Regions from separate parts of the Homo sapiens genome. Here regions 1 and 3 are each linked to region 2. The links are contacts of gene promoters, found by promoter capture Hi-C in blood cells and fetal thymus (Javierre and others, 2016). All regions are on one chromosome and are shown on one strand. Each heading gives the region's core, a stretch centred on a gene start or on the middle of the fragment in contact. The rest is flanking DNA. Distances are from core to core; before and after follow the strand shown.

Region 1 (3,986 bases), core at 575-3,074, 140 kb before region 2:
TCCATGAATCAATTTAGGTCTGTATTCTGGCCATCTCTCACTCCAGACATAGTGGACAGCCTTGAGTTTCTGCTCACTGGAAGGATTCTCCTTCACCACTGCCCTTCACAGTCACCCCTGAGTGAGTGTGAGTGAATACTGCAGCTGTTCTCTTTCATGTGGTACCAGCACATCATACAGACCCATCTATAATCCAGGCTGGAGGTTTTTCTCCCTCAGTCAACTGGACATAGGCAGCATCCCAAGAAGCCATAGTTGTAGAATGAGGGAGAGGAGGCAAAGCAACAGGAGTTGATGTTGGAAGAGTCTGAGCCGCCTGCTCATACAATTTACTTATACCTTCTGAACCTGCCTGGGCTGTTTCTAATACACCATTTCCATTTGATGATAGGTGGCTGCTGTATACATCCAATTTTATGGCTACGTAGGTCAGATGACATCCAGTTCATGATGGGAGCTCAAGCTTCATGGTCAGGCATTCTGCCTCTATCAAGGCCTAGTAGCAAGGCAGAACCTGCTTCTCAGAAGGAGAGTAGTTATCTTCAGAAGAGGTTCTAGATTTACTTTAGAATTCTAGAGGTCTGTACTCTCTCCTGTCAGTGCTTGCCAGAGGCTCCATACAGCATCCCTGTTGGACAAAGTCCCACTGGATCTGTTGGATCACAAGACCCAAGTGGTAGGGCAGCTTTACTGCAGCCTGAACCTTCTGCAGAGTCTTCTCTTATTCTGCTCCTCAATCCACCAGCCTGTCAATTGGGTTGAAATAGCACAAACACAGTATATGTTGCCTTCAAAGTCCAAAATGGCTTACTGTTCCAGGCTGTGTCCCCCAAAATTCATATGTTGAAATCCTAACCCCCAGTGTGATGGTATTCAGAGATGGGGCCTTTGGGAGGTATTAGATCACAAAGGTGGAGCCCTCACGAATGAGATTATTGTCCTTATAAAAGAGACCCCGGAAAGCTACTCCACACCTACTGCAATGTGAGGACACAGCAAGAAGCCTGTTGTCTATGAACCAGGAAGCAGGTCCTTACAAGACACAGAACCTGCCAGGGCCTCAACCTTGGACTTTTTAGCCAACAAAACTGTGAGAAATAAATGCCTTTATTTATAAGTCACCCAGTCTATGGCATTCTGCTATAGCCGCCTGGACAGACTAAGACAGCTGCCAAGTGCCGTGCCTCTTTTGTAGTGATGCAAGATGCAGCAACTCATCTTTCACCCTGGGAGGGCTATTTCAACATGCTCCAGACCCCTGAACCCCCAGAAATACCACTGCTAGTATCCATTCTGCATCAGTCTGGATCCAATCAGGAGAAAGAAGCCACGGAGTAATATGAACTGAGAAAGTTTAATATAAATATTAGATGGCCGGGCGCGGTGGCTCACGCCTATAATCCCAGCACTTTGGGAGGCAGAGGCGGGCGGATCACGAGGTCAGGAGATCGAGACCATCCCGGCTAACACGGTGAAACCCCGTTTCCACTAAACAATCCAAAAAAATTAGCCAGGTATGGTGGCGGGCGCCTGTAGTCCCAGCTACTCGGGAGGCTGAGGCAGGAGAACGGTGTGAACCTGGGAGGCGGAGCTTGCAGTGAACCAAGATCGCGCCACTGGAGCTAAATAACCCGAGTCTCACAGTGCATCTGATTGCTACGCGAACACGTGCGCACCACCAGGCCTTGCCTTGGGGACTGGAACAGGTGCAGGTGGGATTCCCATCAAAGGCTCTTCTCTCAGTCCTGAAAAACAATATACCGGGGGCCGGGGGCCGGGGGCCGGGGCGGGGCACGGCAGCCCTACCCTGGGGGAGGCGCGGCCGGGCCAAGAAAACCAGCGAAGGCCCGGCCCCCCAGCAGAGGCCGGACCATGGTTGACCAGTTGCGGGAGCGCACCACCATGGCCGACCCGCTGCGGGAGCGCACCGAGCTGTTGCTGGCCGACTACCTGGGGTACTGCGCCCGGGAACCCGGCACCCCCGAGCCGGCGCCATCCACGCCCGAGGCCGCCGTGCTGCGCTCCGCGGCCGCCAGGTTACGGCAGATTCACCGGTCCTTTTTCTCCGCCTACCTCGGCTACCCCGGGAACCGCTTCGAGCTGGTGGCGCTGATGGCGGATTCCGTGCTCTCCGACAGCCCCGGCCCCACCTGGGGCAGAGTGGTGACGCTCGTGACCTTCGCAGGGACGCTGCTGGAGAGAGGGCCGCTGGTGACCGCCCGGTGGAAGAAGTGGGGCTTCCAGCCGCGGCTAAAGGAGCAGGAGGGCGACGTCGCCCGGGACTGCCAGCGCCTGGTGGCCTTGCTGAGCTCGCGGCTCATGGGGCAGCACCGCGCCTGGCTGCAGGCTCAGGGCGGCTGGGTGAGCACGCGGCGGACACCGGGACACGGGGCGGGACGGGCAGCCGGGAAGCGCCCACGAGGCTGGCACGGTGAGGAACCCACCGCGCCAGGCCCCTGGAACGAGGTTTCGTGAAAGCAGAAAGGCTCGTTTCAGCGGGCCTGGAACGTTCGCTGTGAAGTCTGGGGTTTCTCCTCCCCTGGCAGAAAGGCCGGCAGAAATCGGCCTTCTTAGACGGCCGTGAACCGTTCCGAAGCAGCTGCGCAGGCTTAGGTCTGCTCACTTGGACCTTGCCCTGGCCTTAGCCGTCGGGGACTTTTAGGGGGGCACCCACGTTAGGTCTGAACGTTTTGCTCCTATAGAAATCCCCAACCAATGAAGTCAGCAATGGCGGGGCCCCAGCCAGGTGGGGTGTTTTTCTCCTTCGCCTATTAAATGCGCCTTTGGAGAGACTCAGACCCATTGATCACAACCCCCTACGCCTCTCAGCCTGGCCAGAGAGGTTGTGGAGTGTGGTGGTCGCCCAGTGGTGGCGCTGACCCAAGGTTCCTTAATTTCTAGTCCTCTGCACCCAGTCCTCGGTGAGAACGTTCTAGGCCCCTGGCTTTCAGCTGCAAGCCTTCATCTCTGTGGTCAAGGTTAGAGGGACAGGCCCTTGCCCTGCAGCTGATGATCAAGGAAAGCCACCTGGTGATGAGCCCACTGCATGCCTCTGGGGGCTCTGAGCTAGACCCCATTTCTTTCCCCACCACCTTATTGGCGTTGATTCAATGACTGAAGTGGCCCATGTTATCGGATACCTATAGCCAAACTATTAAAACCAGCAAGTTTTTTGATCCGAAATGTAGCCTCCTGGGGGCAGTTTCCATTTAGACCTTTTTCTTTTTTTCTTTGAGGCGGAGTCTCGCTCTGTGGCCAGGCTGGAGTGCGGTGGTGGATCCCAGCTCACTGCAACCTCTGCCTCCCGGGTTCAAGGATTCTCCTGTCTCAGCCTCCGGAGTAGCTGGGACTACAGGCGCGCCCCACCAAGCCTGGCTAACTGTGTGTGTGTGTGTGTGTGTGTGTGTGTGTGTGTGTGTGTGTGTTTTCAGTAGAGATGGGCTTTCACCATGTTGGCCAAGATCTCGATCTCTTGATCTCGTGATCTGTCTACCTCAGCCTCCCAAAGTTCTGGGATTACAGACGTGAGCCACCTCACCTGGCCCCCATTTAGACTTTCTATAGTGACAAGTTGGGTTCTATCTGAGAAGGGAAAGGGAGTGGGAGGTGTGTTAGCAGGAACTCCTGCCTTGTTCATAATGTTAGTGTTGGTCTTCAACCCTCTGGGCCGGTGAACTCCCTTCAGCTGCGTGCCTAAGAGCCTCACCTGAGCCCTGTCTCAATACGGCATCTGGCCCCTCCGGGCTCTCTGTACCTGAAGAAGAGATTAGAATTGGAAAGGGGCCGTTGAAGCCTTTTTTTGTTGTTTTTGGCTAATCACTGTTGATGAAAGAATAATCTCTTAACACCAAGGAGCTGAAATTCTTGGCTGGGTGCAGTGGCTCGCACCTGTAATCCCAGCACTTTGGGAGGCCAAGGCAGGTGGATCACCTGAGGCCAGGAGTTCAAGACTAGCCTGACCAACATGGTGAAACCCCCTCTCTACT
Region 2 (4,203 bases), core at 1,243-3,742:
TTTAATCAAACTGGGTGTAGTGGCTTACACCTGTAATTCCAACACTTTTGGAGGCCAAGACACGAGGATCACTTGAGGCCAGGAATTCAAGACCAGTCTAGGCAACATAGTGAGACCTTGTTTCTATATATTTTTTTAAGTTTTTAAAAAAGTATTAAAAATAAAATAAACTTCAATCAAAGTGATAACCTCAGGTAAGAAATACTGCAAAATGATTGTGATTGATTTACCTTAAGTCCAATCTCATGTATTATATCCTTTATGAAGAAAGATAATGAGTAGAAGAGCAATGGTCAGCATAAAGTGTAACCAAAACAAGGCTGGGCACGGTGGCTCAGGCCTGTAATTCCATCACTTTGGGAGGCCAAGGCGGGTGGATCACCTGAGGTCAGGAGTTTGAGACCAGCCTGACTAACATGATGAAATCCCATCTCTACTAAAAATACAAAATTAACCGGATATGGTGGCGCATGCCTGTAATCCCAGCTACTCAGAAGGCTGAGGCAGGAGAATCACTCGAACCCGGGAGGTGGAGGTTGCAGTGAGCTGAGATCACGCCATTGTACTCCAGCCTGGGCAACAAGAGCGAAACTCTGTTTAAAAAAAAAAAGTGTAGCCAAAACATAAACAAAAAAATCTGTCCAAGAGTCAGAAGTGATTTGTTTTATACTATTCATATGGGAAAAACACGTTTATTCTGATAGCCAGGAATATGGACATGGTGACTCACCAGACCAAACTGTAATTCAATTTATTAAGATTTAGCCAGGCACTGTGGCCCATACTTGTAATCCCAACGTGTTAGGAGGCCGAGGCAGGAGGACCTCTTGAGGCCAGGAGTTTGAGGCTGCAGTGAGCTATGATGGCGCCACTGCGCTCCAGCCTAGGCAACAGAGACACTGTATCAAAAGAAAATAAATTTAATCAAAGTACTTTTCAGGGACAGTACTCTAAATGAAAATGAAACTGAATCACTGTCAAATGGAATACTTGTTTTTCCAGTATTCCAGATAGTTTTCAGGTTATCTATGTATCTTCTCTTGCAACATCCGCTTCATACACAAAAGCTCTAGGATTGATGATTACATACCCAGTCCCACCCATTTGGACCCTGTTAAGCACTGAAGTTTACTACAAAAATATATATCATATAATCTCCAAACTAAATATTCATTGTTGCTTGTCCAAGACCAAAACTCTCATAATGGCCTAATTAGGTAATGTAACACAGGATGTACTCTTTTCTCACTTTTTCTTCTAAGAAACAGAGCCTTACTCTGTCACTCAGGCTAGAGTGAAGTGGCGTGATCATAGCTCACTGCAGCCTCCAACTCCTGGGCTCAAGTGATCCTCCATTCTCAGTTTCCTGAGTAGCTAGGGCTACAAATGCATGCCATCATGCCTGGCTAATGTTTTTATTTTTAATTATTTTATTTTATTATTATTATTTTTTTGAGATGGAGTCTCGTGCCCAGGCTGGAGTGCAGTGGCGCGATCTCGGCTCACTGCAAGCTCCGCCTCCTGGGTTCACGCCATTCTCCTGCCTCATCCTCCCTAGTAGCTGGGACGACAGGCGCCCACAACCACGCCCGGCTAATTTTTTTTATTTTAGTAGAGACGGGGTTTCACCGTGTTAGCCAGGATGGTCTCGATCTCCTGACCTCGTGATCCACCCGCCTCGGCCTCCCAAAGTGCTGGGATTACAGGCGTGAGCGACCGCGCCCGGCCAAAAAAATGGTCATTTAAAGCTTAAAAAAGCTGTTTGTTAACATGTATATTATTTTTAAATGAATTAGTAACTTAAAAATTTATTACCGTATTAGTAAGAATACAGTAAATATCAATACCCGTACCTGTAATCCCAGCACTTTGGGAGGCCGAGGCGGGCGGATTGCCTGAGCTCCTGAGTTTGCGACCAGCCTGGGCAACACGGTGAAACCCCGTGTCTACTAAAATACAAAAAATTAGCCGGGTGTGGTGGCGGGCGCCTGTCGTCCCAGCTACTCGGGAGGCTGAGGAATTAGAATTGCTTGAACCCGGACAGTGGAGGTTGCTGTGAGCCGAGATCGCGCCACTGCACTCCAGCCTGGGCGACTGAGCGAGACTCCGTCTCAACAATTTTTAAGAGGGTAAAGGGGTTTGGGATGAAATAACTGGAGAACAGCTGCTCAGTAAGAAACAAAGGGCTTCAATCCTGACTCGCGATAGGTTTAATCCAGCCAGAGGCCCTTCCCCAGAGAGCGCCAGTCACCGCCCACCCCATCCACACCCGCAACCGAACGCAGGACCCCCCCGCCCCCTGGTAAGAATCCTGGCAAATAACAGATATTGACGAAATGGCCGGGCTTATATACCATGCATACCCAGGCGAGAACAGGTTCACTGGGCGAGCGAAAACTAGGTCACGTAAGGAAAGGAGTGTCTTCGGCGAATCTTTGCGACACTGTCGTGTTTCAGTGGTTCCGTGCCGTAAAGAGAGGCCGGGAGCTGCCCCTAACCGAGGCAGCAGCGGACGTGAGCGATAATGGCGGATATGGAGGATCTCTTCGGGAGCGACGCCGACAGCGAAGCTGAGCGTAAAGGTGGGTTCGCTGGTCTTCGGAGGATGGGTGCGTGGCAGGCCTTCCGCTGTGGGAGCCGGACAACCGTGGAGGCTCCAGCGCCGCGGGCAAGAGGTGGCGTTTCCTCCACTCCTGCCTCAGCGCCCCCTGCACTCCCGGAGGTGCCATCCTCCTCCGGCGGGCAGGATGGAGAGTCAGACAGTCTGCGCCTCGAGGCTCTGGGTGTCGGTGGAGCAGACGGTTCCTGGGAGCTTGTGGAGCGAAAGGGGCGCGGGGCATGGGTGGAAGTGCAGGCGAGCCTGCGCAGCGCGGGTAGGAACGTTGGAGTCCTGTTCCGCCTTGCCTTGCACAGGCCAGCGTAGAGTAAGGGCTGTTTTTGAATGAATGGAAATGAATGCAGGAATATGGGATGGGGTGGGCGAATTTACAGAGGGCCTCAGAATGCCGTCTTGAATGAAACCAGAGCATGGTGTGATAGGGAGCTTGAGATGTCTGGATGACGAGTCTGGGACGGATAATGGGATGGGGTTACAGATAGATGTTTCACATAGGAGAGAATGTGTTCTCTAAGAGCTTGTGCAGAAACTCCAGAATTTCCGGAGTCTGTGATGTTAGATTGGGGAGTGCATGGGGTCTGTGTACAGAGAGGAGGAATGAAGGATTTGTTGATGAAATGAATGAATTAGTGTATGTGCATGCTGCTTGGAAGTTATTTCTGGCACAGGATTGTGGGTGTTTTTTTAAAGTTTACTTTTTTAGAGACAGGGTCTCACTGTGTTGCTCAGGTTGGCCTTGAACTTCTGGGCTCAAGCCATCCTTCTGCCTCAGCCTCCAAGTAGTTGAGACTACGGGCACTTGAAATATGAATAGGAGCTATTTGAAGTGAGAACCCAAGACCAAGTTCAGAATTCTTGCAACCCTCTAGGCTCCAAGTAAAGTGAGTCTCTTGTAGACAACATATATCTAGTTGTTATTTTCATCACCCCCAAATAAAACACTGTTCATAAAGCACTTACTCCTCATATGCTCCTTCCTCCAACCCCTGTCTGCTATTGTTTCTGTACTTATCTGTTCTGGGAATTTCATATAAATTGAATCATGCATTGTGGTCTTTTGTGTCTGGTTTCTTTTACTTAGCATAATGTCTTCAAGGCATTGTAGCACATATCAGTACTTTATTCATTTTTAATGATTTAATAATATTCCATTGAATGTGCACACCCTAAATTTGTTAATCCATTTATCTGTTGATGGACATTGGGTTGTTTGAATAGTGCTACTGTAAACATTCCTGGTTCCGGCAGGCGGATTTGCCTGAGCTCAGGAGTTGAAGACCAGCCTGGGCAACATGGTGAAACCCTGTCTCTACTAAAAATACAAACTGTTAGCCAGGTGTGGTCGTGCGTGCCTGTAGTCCCAGGTACTCAGAAGGCTGAGGCATGAGAATCACTTGAACCCAGGAGACAGAGGTTGGCAGTGAGCTGAGATTGCATCACTTCACTTCAACCTGGGTGATAAAGTGAGACTCTGTCTCCAAAAAAATAAATAAATTCATGTACATGTTTGGGTGCCTGTTTTTAATTTTGGGAGGAGGGTATTATGTAGGAGTGCAGAGTCATATGGTAATTCTTTAATATTTTGA
Region 3 (4,241 bases), core at 560-3,059, 200 kb before region 2:
TGACTAAAATGGGTGGGCAGGTCCTTCTGGAAGCTTTAGGGGAGAATCCATTTCTTGCTTTTTCCAGCTTCTTGGGGCTGCCCATGTTCTTGGCCCAAGGCTCACGTGATTCTGAGCACTGCTTCTGTGGTCACCTCTCTCTCTGACTCTAACCCACCTGCTCCCTCTTATTAGGATCCATGTGATTATGTTGGGCCCACCTGGATAATCCAGGATAATCTCCCCATCTCAAGATCCTTAACTTAATCACATCTAGAAAGTCCCTTTTGCCGTAAGATAGTATCGCCACTGGTTCTGGGGATTAGGATGTGGATACCTTTGGGGGCCATTATTTAGCCTATCACACAGCTTTTAGATCAGGAGGGTTCCCCTGCTTCAGCTTCAGTCTTCCAGCACAAAACATTTCCTTCTCTTCCTAACAGCCCTGTCCCTTATAGATGAAAAAGCAGCTGAGATCCAGGGAGGGGTGAAGGGATTTCCCTAAGATTTTGTAGCTACTCTAATGTTGAATAGGGAGTAGAGAAGATTCAAGCTCCCAGGACAGCTGTCCTCCTCACCATGCTAGACCTTCTCTTAGAAAGTTGAGATTTGCCAACAGTCTCCCTAACTGACCTAGTTCCGTCTACCTCTTCCACTTCACCTTGGATCAGTCTATGCTTTGCTCACTATCGCCAGTCACACTGGCCATCTTGGTGAGCTTCAGACCATCAAGCTTGTTCTTGCCTTCAGCCTTCAGACATGTTGTATTCTCTCTTCTGGAATGTTCTCCCACTTCTTTGCCTAGTTTACTTCATATATTCTGTCTCGGTTCATATTCCACCTCCTCAGAGGCACCTTCCCTTATTATAAAAAGCAGTAAATGTGCTGGGCACGGTGGCTCATGCCTGTAATCCCAGCACTTTGGGAGGCAGAGGCAGGTGGATCACTTGAGCCCAGGAGATCAAGACCAGCCTGGGCAGCATGGAGACTCCTTAATCTAAAATGGCCATGTCTGTCCCAACTTCCTACAATTTCAGCTCCCTTTCATTGTTCACTTCATCACTCTCTAAAATTACTTTCATTCATTTATTCTTTGTTGACTGATTGATGATTGGTTGATTTTATGTCTCCCTTACTAGAATGTAAGTACCTTGGCAGCAGGTACTTTATTTGTATCATTTACTGTGGATCACCCTCCTACAACAGTGAGCTAGGCTAAGTAAATATTTATCAAATGAAAAAAAAAGATTGGCATTGAAAAGAAAGAAAAGTAAATCCACGTATGAAAAGGTGCCGATTTTTTTTATTCAGTAAAAGAAAATAAAAAGCAAAGTGCCAAACAGTATATATAACATGATCTTAACAAACAAGAGGTGCTTGTATATGCAGTAAATGTCTGGAAGGATACGCAAGGAACTTGTTATCGCTAGAGAGGGGTATGGAAAGTGAAGGTGCTTTTCATTTTATACCCATCTATACATTTACTGTTTTTGAGCCAGGTTCTCACTCTGTCACACAGGCTGGAGTACAGTGGCCCGATCATGGTTCACTGCCGCCTCAAACTCCTGGCTACCTCAGCCTCTCAAGTAGCTGGGACTACAGGTGTGTGCCACCACACCTGGCTAATTTTTGCATTTTTTTGTAGAGACGAGGTTTCTCCATGTCGCCCAGGCTGGTCTTGATCTCCTGGGCTCAAGCGATCCACCTACCTCTGCCTCCCAAAGTGCTGGGATTACAGGCATGAGCCACCGCACCCAGCACATTTACTGCTTTTTATAATAAGGGAAAAATGAGTACTAGAATGGGAGTCAAGATCAAGAATAAAAGGAGGCCGGGCATGGTGGCTCACTTTGGAAGGCTAAAACGGAAAGATCACTTGAGCCCAGGAGTTGAAGACCAGCCTGGGCAATATAGTGAGACCTCAACTCTCAAAAAAATAAAAATAAAAAAATAAAAATTAGCCAGGCATGATGGTGTGTACCTGTGGTCCCAGCTACTCGGGAGGCTGAGGTGGGAGGATCACTTGAGCCCAGGAGGTTGAGACTGCAAAGAGCTATGATTGCACCACTGCACTCAAGCCTGTGTGACAGAATAAGATCCTGTCTCAAAAAATAAAAAATAAAAAGAGAAAGGGGAAAACAATTCAACTCTAAAGAGTCTTTAACTTGAAATTAAACTGAGGAATAATCTGCAAGACAGGCTCAAACCAGACAGACCAGGAAGGACATGGTGTTCATTTCAGCCAACAGGCACAGCAGCCTCCTGGGGCTGTGTGGGAGCTTTACTCCAATTCCCAGGTCCTTGAGGCAGATGCTAATATTGTTAAGGAACAAAGCAAGTTTATGTCGTTTCTCTGAGTACAAATCTAGACTAAATTTGATAGAAGGATGTATTATCTGATACCATTAACTTTTCTATCTATTCTAAATGTAATTTTTTGAAAAGTTTTATTATTGAATGCTTTATGGCTTAGAGTCTTGGACTATTCTGATTTATGGCTTAGGGAAAAATCTAGGAAAACCAACTTTCTAGATTAGCCTGGAGCAAACATATTCCTTGACTTTTTTCATATTCTAAGAAAATGTGATCTGTGTACCGACGCTTACAGAAGTCGGTTTCTCTACAGTCATCCTCTTCCCTGCTGTTTGGCCACATGCCTCCTGCAGCCATCAGAGGCAGCAGAAAGCTAACCTGCCTTCATTTCCTTTCCCCTTCCTTTCTCTGCATTCACTGTTATACTCGAGCTGGCTAATGCAAGGGTGTTTAGAGTACTTTCCCAATAAACAAATGCTCACTGTGGAAAAATCTAGAAATATAGAAGAAAACAAGTCATTCATAATCTCAATACCTAGAGGTAGCCATTTTTAATATTTTCATGTATTTCATAGCTTATGTTTCCATGTTTGTGTATATATTTATAAGCTTACTAGGGACTGTACTAGATAGAGGATTTGAGCCCAGTTTTAACATTCAGCACAATGGATTGAGTAGCTCCCCATGTCATTTACATTTCTTTTAATGTCATCATTAAAAATTCTTATATGGAACCTTACAGTATTCAATCTTAAAGATGGTCCCATAACTTAATTCTCCAAACTTTTAATTAGGGAATTCAGGGTAGAATTTTTTGTGGCTCATGAATTTTTTTTTTTTTTTTTTTTTTTGGAGATAGAGTCTCACTTTATTGCTCACCTGGAGTCCAGTAGCGTGATCATGGCTCACTGCAACCTCCACCTCCCAGATTGAAGTGCTTCTCTTGCCTCAGCCTCCCAAGTAGCTGGGATTATAGTCGCACACCACCATGCCTGGCTAATTTTTTTTTTATAGTTTAGCCATGTTGTCCAGGCTGGTCTCAAACTCCTGACCTCAGGTGATCTGCCTGCCTCAGCCTCTCAAAGTGCTGGGATTACAGGCATGAGCCACCACGCCCAGCCTCATGAATTTTTTTAAGGCAATTCACAAATCTCTGACAAATACAAGTGAGATAAATGTGACTATTAATGTTTTCCTTCCATACAGGGGTTTGAGAGGGTTTTTTTTTTTTTCTTCAGCTTTTAAGTTCCAGGGTACATGTGCAGGATGTGCAGTTTTGTTACATAGGTAAACATGTGTCATGTGGTTTGCTGCACAGATCAACCCATCACCTAAGTATTAAGCCCAGCATCCATTAGCTATTCTTCCTGATGCTGTCCCTCCTGCTATGCCCCTGACAGGCCCCAGTGTGTGTTGTTCCCCCGATGTGTCCATTTGTTCTCATCGTTCAGCTCCTACTTATAAAGGAGAACATGTGGTGTTTGGTTTTCTGTTTCTGCCTTAGTTTGCTGAGGATAATGGCTTCCATGTCCCTGCAAAGGACATTATTTCATTCCTTTTTATGGCTGCATAGTATTCCATGGTATGTATGTACCACATTTTCTTTATCCAGTCTATCATTGATGACCATTTGGGTTCATTTCACATCTTTGATATTGTAAATAGTGCTGCAATGAACATTCGTGCATGTATCTTTTAATAGATTGGTTTATATTCCTTTGGATATATACCCAGTAATGGGATTGCTGGGTCAAATGGCATTTCTGCTTCTAGATCTTTGAGGAATTGCCACACTGTCTTCCACAGGGTTGAACTAATTTAATTTACATTCCCACCAACAGTGTAGAAGCATTCCTTTTTCTCCGCAACCTCACCAGCATCTGTTACTTCTTGACTTTTTAATAATCACCTTTCTGACTGACATGAGATGGTATCTCATTGTGGTTTTG

Evidence for each region. Contacts are between HindIII fragments. The CHiCAGO score rates a contact against its expected background, and 5 or more counts as called.
Region 1: a contact is called between the fragment with the promoter of BCL2L10 here and the fragment with the promoter of LEO1 in region 2, in 9 of 17 cell types (activated CD4 T cells, M1 macrophages, total CD8 T cells and 6 more). The highest score is 7.3, in activated CD4 T cells.
Region 3: a fragment that was not itself captured here is called in contact with the fragment with the promoter of LEO1 in region 2 in 8 of 17 cell types (M0 macrophages, activated CD4 T cells, M1 macrophages and 5 more); the score reaches 7.0 in M0 macrophages.

What each region holds. Positions count from the first base shown.
Region 1 is chr15:52,110,613-52,114,598 of GRCh38, reverse strand. BCL2L10 (BCL2 like 10) reads left to right here and starts at 1,824. Exons shown (of 2, transcript NM_020396.4): 1 at 1,824-2,361. The coding sequence starts at 1,873. RefSeq lists a silencer at 1,818-1,977. The HindIII fragment of the contact is 9,003 bases long and covers 466-3,986 here.
Region 2 is chr15:51,970,067-51,974,269 of GRCh38, reverse strand. LEO1 (LEO1 component of Paf1/RNA polymerase II complex) reads left to right here and starts at 2,492. Exons shown (of 12, transcript NM_138792.4): 1 at 2,492-2,582. The coding sequence starts at 2,525. It also overlaps a transcript of MAPK6 not described here. RefSeq lists enhancers at 2,223-2,798, 2,446-2,975, 2,799-3,375. The HindIII fragment of the contact is 6,227 bases long and covers 1,751-4,203 here.
Region 3 is chr15:52,169,996-52,174,236 of GRCh38, reverse strand. The region is part of intron 3 of GNB5 (G protein subunit beta 5); the gene reads left to right. Among named protein-coding and RNA genes, the nearest start is that of CERNA1, 7.9 kb to the left of the region's middle. The HindIII fragment of the contact is 2,189 bases long and covers 715-2,903 here.